Regions from separate parts of the Homo sapiens genome. Here region 2 is linked to region 1. The links are contacts of gene promoters, found by promoter capture Hi-C in human tissues and cell types (Jung and others, 2019). All regions are on one chromosome and are shown on one strand. The core of a region is centred on a gene start or on the middle of the fragment in contact, and the rest is flanking DNA. Distances in the headings are between cores, read along the strand shown. Region 1 holds the start of CST9L (cystatin 9 like). Region 2 has its middle 16 kb from the start of CST8.

Evidence for each region. Contacts are between HindIII fragments. The study calls those that stand out against the background at their distance.
Region 2: a contact is called between a fragment that was not itself captured here and the fragment with the promoter of CST9L in region 1, in 1 of the 25 tissues and cell types used here (dorsolateral prefrontal cortex).

Annotation. Positions count from the first base shown.
Region 1 is chr20:23,566,816-23,570,010 of GRCh38, forward strand. CST9L (cystatin 9 like) reads right to left here and starts at 1,669. Exons shown (of 3, transcript NM_080610.3): 1 at 1,396-1,669. The coding sequence starts at 1,635. The HindIII fragment of the contact is 10,231 bases long and covers 1-3,195 here.
Region 2 is chr20:23,505,974-23,509,168 of GRCh38, forward strand. It overlaps a transcript of CST8 not described here. Among named protein-coding and RNA genes, the nearest start is that of CST8, 16 kb to the left of the region's middle. The HindIII fragment of the contact is 4,670 bases long and covers 1-3,195 here.

The sequences.
Region 1 (3,195 bases), core at 419-2,918:
AGGCAGAGGTTGCAGGGAGCTGAGATTGTGCCATTGCACTCCAGCCTGGTTGACAGGGTGAGACTCCATATCAAAAGAAAGAAAGAAAGAAAGAAACACCATCTGCCCTATTGCAAAGTGCACCTTGATCTTCTCACTCCTTTCAGTTTCACTTCATTCCATCTCCTTTCTCCCTATCCGTCCATTTCCCCAACTCCAAAACTGACTCTGGAATTGTCACATCCAGGAACCCACGTGGCAGGCTCCAGCCCAGAGAGCAGGGGTCAGAGAACCAGCCAGGGCCTTGCACAGGGTCTTTCCAGAGGCTGAAGCTTGGTGCAGGGTTGGGGTCCTTTTGCTCTTCTTGCAAGGTTTCAGTAATGAGGTAGGAAGAGCATTTTTGCCTCTCTACCCAACTAGAAGTCCTCAACTTAGCTGGGTGCAGTGGCTCATGCCTGTAATCCCAGCACTTTGGGAGGCCGAGGTGGGCAGATCATGAGGTCAGGAGTTCAAGACCAGCCTGGCCAACATAGTGAAACCCTGTCTCTACTAAAAATACAAAAAATTAACCAGGCATCTGGCGGGTGCCTGTAATCCCAGTTATTTGGGAGGCTGAGGCAGGAGAATCACTTGAACCTGGGAGGCGGATCTTGCAGTGAGCGGAGATGACGCCACTGTACTCTAGCCTGGGTGACAGAGCAAGATTCCATCTCAAAAAAAAAAAAAAAAAAAAGTCCTCAACTTGGTGACTATTTTCATTGTTCATGCCTACAGCACAGATGAACTGTGCATTCCTGATTGCATTCTGTAGTGACTTCATTAAAAGGAGAACATTTAGGATTAAGACCTGTGGTCTGAGGAAGAGTGTGAAACAGTCTTCAGTTTATTAAGTGCAGACACACCAAGGAGCTCAGAGAAGTTGGAAATCAGCAAAGAGGAACTGACCACCCAGAGGTCTTTTGGGACTGGTGGGGGTTTCTTATTGCTCCTGAACCCTTACTGTTCTCTTTTTTAATTTTCATTTTTTAAATTATCTCTTTTTTATTACATTTTTTGGAAGTATTTCTCAATTTCTCTCTATTCACATTTTCTGTTCAGCCCTTTTCCTTATTCCGTATCTTCATTTTCTTGGTAGTCCTCATTTTGAAGTCATTCTTCAGTTAAATAATGTCATAAAAAGATGGAGATTAAACAATATGTTTTTCATGAGAGTTGATTAGGATCAAATTATTTGAAATTTCTAACTTAGATGTTTTCAAAATCAAAAACTAACTAAACTACCTTGTATTTTCTTAAGTATGGACTACAACTGGTGAACAAGACTCTTCAATAAGACCCCCTGTCCCCACCCCACTCCCATTTTTCACTGAGCAGCACATGCCAGATGCCAGGGCAGGAGGGTACGTGGTCACCAACCTGCTCCTTCCAGGAATTCAAGATGTGCCCCAGTCTGTAGGCATAGTAGTCCTTGCTCTGTTGGTTGAATGTGTGGACAGCAAACTCCACTGTGGCAGGGAGGTAACGAGCCATGACATTGTGTTCATCACAGTCCCTTTGCTCGTGGAAATGCCAGGCATAGATCAGCAGGATCTGGGAGCCTAAGAGAAGCAGCAGCAGCGCCCAGGACAGACCTCCCTTCCACGGCAGGCCCAGCATGGTGCTGACTGTAGGCACCGCTGACTTTGCTCTTCCCAGCCCCCGTGCCCACAGGAGTTAATTGAGCACAGACCCAGCCCTTAATCTTATCTGCTCAGACAGCCCTGTGGGACAAACTTGTCTCACCCCACACTGGCAACAGGCACTCCTACAGGACAGGAAGGACAGGATCCTGGATTAAAGGGAGGCAGCTCTGGATGTGGAGTCACTCATCTGCCATCCTTCTGCCCTATACTCTCTAGGCCAGCACAAGCCACAGGCAGGAGGGGAGCTACCCTCTGCCACTAGCTTTGAAGGCTGCTCCTTCAGAACCCACAGGTTCTGGTTGTCCTCAGGTGCTTGGTGTCCTTGGATGATTCTGTGCCTTCGCCTCCCACAGCGAACTGAGATAAGACCTGGGGACATCTCGACTCTCACTCTCCCCTCCTTCACCCCGTCGAAGAGAGGATCTCCGTTGTTCAGAAAAATAACTAAGATATCAGTTTGTTCTTTTGTTGTATAATACCTCAACAGTTGTACTCTGTGAACCAAGGGAAAAAATGAAAAAAATAAATGGCAATTTTTATCAACCATTTTGACCTGGGATGGACAATGAGTATTGTGAGAAAAGGGCAGGAAAGACAGAGACCCAAGTCCTGAGGCCCCAGCCTGGTCATGCCCAGCCCAGCCCTGCTTGCATTTCTAAACCTTGTCAGCCCTGGTTCCAGCTGAGCCAGAGCCAAGGTTTCTACAGGGCCCACCGCCCTACATCTGCAGCCCCACCACACACACTCATGTTTTATTAGACTGGAATATCATTCTAGACCAAATTTTTAAACACTTCTCTGGGAGATCACATGTTTCTGCCTCAGTGAGATAGAGGTTGGACCATTCTTCAGCCCCTTGATCATTTTTGTCTCCATCTGACCATCCTTCTTGGTGTTCTAGAGTGAGCTATTTTGCCAGCACTTAGGTGATACTAGGTGGTTACTTTTAAATCAATTTCCTGGCAATAACTAACCTGAAAGAGGAAATAATAATATTTTGTTGCTGTAAGAATGAACATTAAATAGTGCAGGACAGGTGAAGTATGCAAAAGTGAGAGCTTTGAGTTTGGCTGAGAAGACTATGGTGCTGCAATATAGGCAAGAACCTAGCATTGTTGCCAGATAACAGAATAGAAAGTTCAGTCCCAAGTCAGGGAGACTGATTCTACAAGAACTGTTCTGACTGTGTCCCATACCATGTTCCCAGATCACAGCAGGGCCAGGCCTGGGAAGAGCATCACTGCATCTGTCCACACTAGCACAGCACTGGCCAGGTCAAGACAGCTGCAGGTGAAGAGAGTCATGCTGCCTGACCCAACACTGGGGTGGTCCCGAGTGTCTCCTCACAGGAGACTTCACCCATCACAGACAGAAGAAAGTAGCTAGTGTGTGGGGAGCTGCTGCCCAGGAGCCATGTGCATCTTGATCTTCTGCCTTGACTCCAGGAAGTGGGTGACACAGAGTAGCTGAAACCTGTGTCCTGATTAGCAATGATAACAGGTGAAATCTGGCCCATTGCGTTGTTTCATGGGTT
Region 2 (3,195 bases), core at 403-2,902, 61 kb before region 1:
TTAAAGTATTTAAATCTCCTAGTTTTTTTTTTTTTTACAAAGATCCTGTATACCATTTTGCTCCTAAATAGCTTCCAAATGGTTTTTAGTTGTTGCTGTAAGTAGAAATTTTCCCCAGTTGCTGGTAGTTTGTACTGGAGAATGTTGTGAATCTGACTACATTATAACATTTTGCCACTTTTCTTACTTGCTGGAATAATTTAAGTGAAATACTCATTAAGTCCTTTGATGGCAAATCAAGGGGCTTAGGGCTCACTGGGAAACAAGACGGACACACCGGGAAACACAGCATGCCTATGCGAGGACACCAACACAGACATGGTGAGGGTGGGTGCTGTGGGGGTCCTAGACTCCTCCTTCAGGTGCAGGCTTGCCTGTAGGTGTGTGGACAGTGACCGAGGTCCACAGCTTCGCTTTCTTTTGGGACCTACCAGTTTTATAGAAAAGCATGGTTTGAAGAAGTCCCATTCCCCATTCCTGAAGCTTATGAGGATTCCATGGTTATAGGATTTTAGAACTTTCTATACCCCATGTTCTGAATTTCAAGACACCTCCTCCTTTTGTCTATGCATATTCTTCAGAAATCCCTGATATTCTGCACTAAAACAGCATCTTGGTATCACACAGATTTTTTTTTTCTGTAAGACAACACATAATAGTGTAGCAAAAAATAAAAAAATAAAAGATAATTTACAAATCCTACATGCTAAAGTTCTGACTACCTATCATATATAGCCAGGGAAATGGTCCCTTCATAACTCCTGAGTCTTACCTCTGGCTTTTCTTTCCTTTCTCTTTTAGTGCCATCAACACAGGGTCCCAAGAGTTCTCAGCCACATCAGCTCCAAGAAGAACTTGTTTCATTGAGGATTTAGGGGAACTGTCTCATTGGCGAAGAGAAGTTCTCCTCCCCCTGCCCCGATGTGACTCGTTAAGGTTTGGGGTGCCCTGGCTCTTGGAGCTTTCATCTATGGTCTAAACCTTGAACACCATAAACATTAGGTTGGCAGTTCTTGGAGCTTGGGTAACTGCATGCACATGCCTTGTTCACACATGTCCCAGTATTTTTACTTACTCTGTTGAGGGAGTTTATTCTTTCCTTTGAATACATTTCACTCCCACCTGTAATAAACTCCCAATTGGTCTTTCTACTTTTGTATCTTTAGGTGAATTAAAAATTTCATTTTTAGTAGATGTTTCATATTTGTGCTACATCCTTCTGAACTCCAGAATCATATGTAGGCATACGTGTATATGTGTGTAAATATATATTTAGAGTATATATATATATTTAATACATATCTATAATAAATTCTATATTCATTTCCACTCTGGTGTTAGGCTTCATTGTTCTCACTGACAGGCAGCTCTGGGTCCTGGGAGTCTGCCATTGTTGGACTCCATTAACAGGCTCCCTAGCCCTTCCACTGATGGCTGCATTTGGCTAATTTTGGGGAATGGGAGCATGCGGAAATATGAGCGCAGCTGGAGCCAGTGTTGGGATATTTCTTACTGGTTGCTGGAACCCACTTAACAGCAGCTGCATTCTTCCGCCAGGGGCCAGCGCTCCTGCTGGGCAGTCCCTCCCCGCCACCTACAGCAACCCCTAGTGCGTGTGGCAGGCAGAGCAATGCTTCCAGAGATGTGTACATCCTGAGCCCTGAAATCTGTGGATATATTATGCAAGCTGGTAAGGGGAAGTTCAGGTTGCAGAGGGAGTTAAGGGTGCTAATAGGCTGACCTTAAAATAGGAAGATTATCTGGATTATCCAGATAAGCCCAAATTCCTTAAAAGATGGTAGAATGGTAGGGGAGTCAGAGCTGAAGTGATTCAATATGAGAAGAACTCCACTCACTGCAGGCTTGAAAGACAGAAGGCCATGAGGCAAGGACTGTGGGCAGCCTCTAGGAGCCAGGAAAGGCAAGGAAATGGGTTCTTTCCTAGAGCGTCTGGAAGAATGCAGCACCCCCCCCCCCCACCCCCACACTGTCCAGAGCCCAGTGAGCCCGTCCTGACTCTGACTTTCAGAGCTGTAGGATCACAAACTTGTGCTGTCAGCTGCCAAGGCGGTGGTATTTGTTCAGCAGCCGTGGGAAACTAACACACTGGGCTTGGCCACCACTGCATCCTTCACCCGTGGGGTCTAGGGATGGTGCACGTGCCCCTTTCACTGACTGTGGGTCCTTTACCCTCCGTTGTTGGTTTTCCTTTGCAAATATCCCTCTGTTCCCTCTCCTCAGATACCCTGTGGAATTTGTCTCCAATTTCCTGGCAGGACTGGGGATGAGATGGGAAACTAAGGGGGGAAGGGTCAAAACGACCTCATCCGCCTCCAGCATCCTCTAGCTCAGTCAGTGCCCACTGTATAATTATTGTCACAAAACCACAGCCAGATAATTCTTTTTTTTTTGTCATAATCAAAGGGCCATAAAATAGATTTAAAGCAAAACTCACACTATCTCTGTCATTACTTGGTGCATTTTTCTCACCCTCAAAATTAGCTGTTTTTTTCTTCATAGACCAAAGAGAAGTAACAAAAATAAACTTGTGCCGAGTTCACAAGCTTCAGCTGGATGTACTGGGGCTGGGTCAACTCAATGCCATCAACCTCCCACAGGGTGAACGGGAGCCGCTCTTCAGGCCCACCTAAGCATCTGCTCTCTCCCATGGAGGGACTGGTGTCAGGCCTCCAGTAGGGGAGAGGTGACTTCAGCGTCTGGACAGCCTCCTGTGCGGACCTGGCAGCACTGCTGGTGGTGGTGATGGCTGACAGTGCCTTTGTGCTCCCACCCTGCCCAGAGCTGTTAGATGCTCTCCACACAAGGCCTTCTGCCCTCCTCTGCTCCTACACCCTGACCCCAATCACACAGGAAGCATCCCCATCCTGGGGTCAGTACCCCGTTTTCAGAAACTCCTCTCTCTCTCACACACACACATGCACGCACACACCATTGTCCCTCCTGAGCCAGGGCTGCTTCCCAGTGACTGGCAGCCTCCCACCTCCCTGGCTGCATCCTGGCAGGCTCAGCCCAAGCTGTGGGAAGACCAGGGCCTAAGGAAGCCATGCGGAAAAGAGGACAGAGGGAATGAACAGGGCAATGGGTCATGATCAAAGGAGCCATGTGGTCTGAGTAACTGCCCACAGCTGTGGGGCCAGGCTTGGGTAGTGGGAGGCAAAGAGGCTGAAGAGTGCA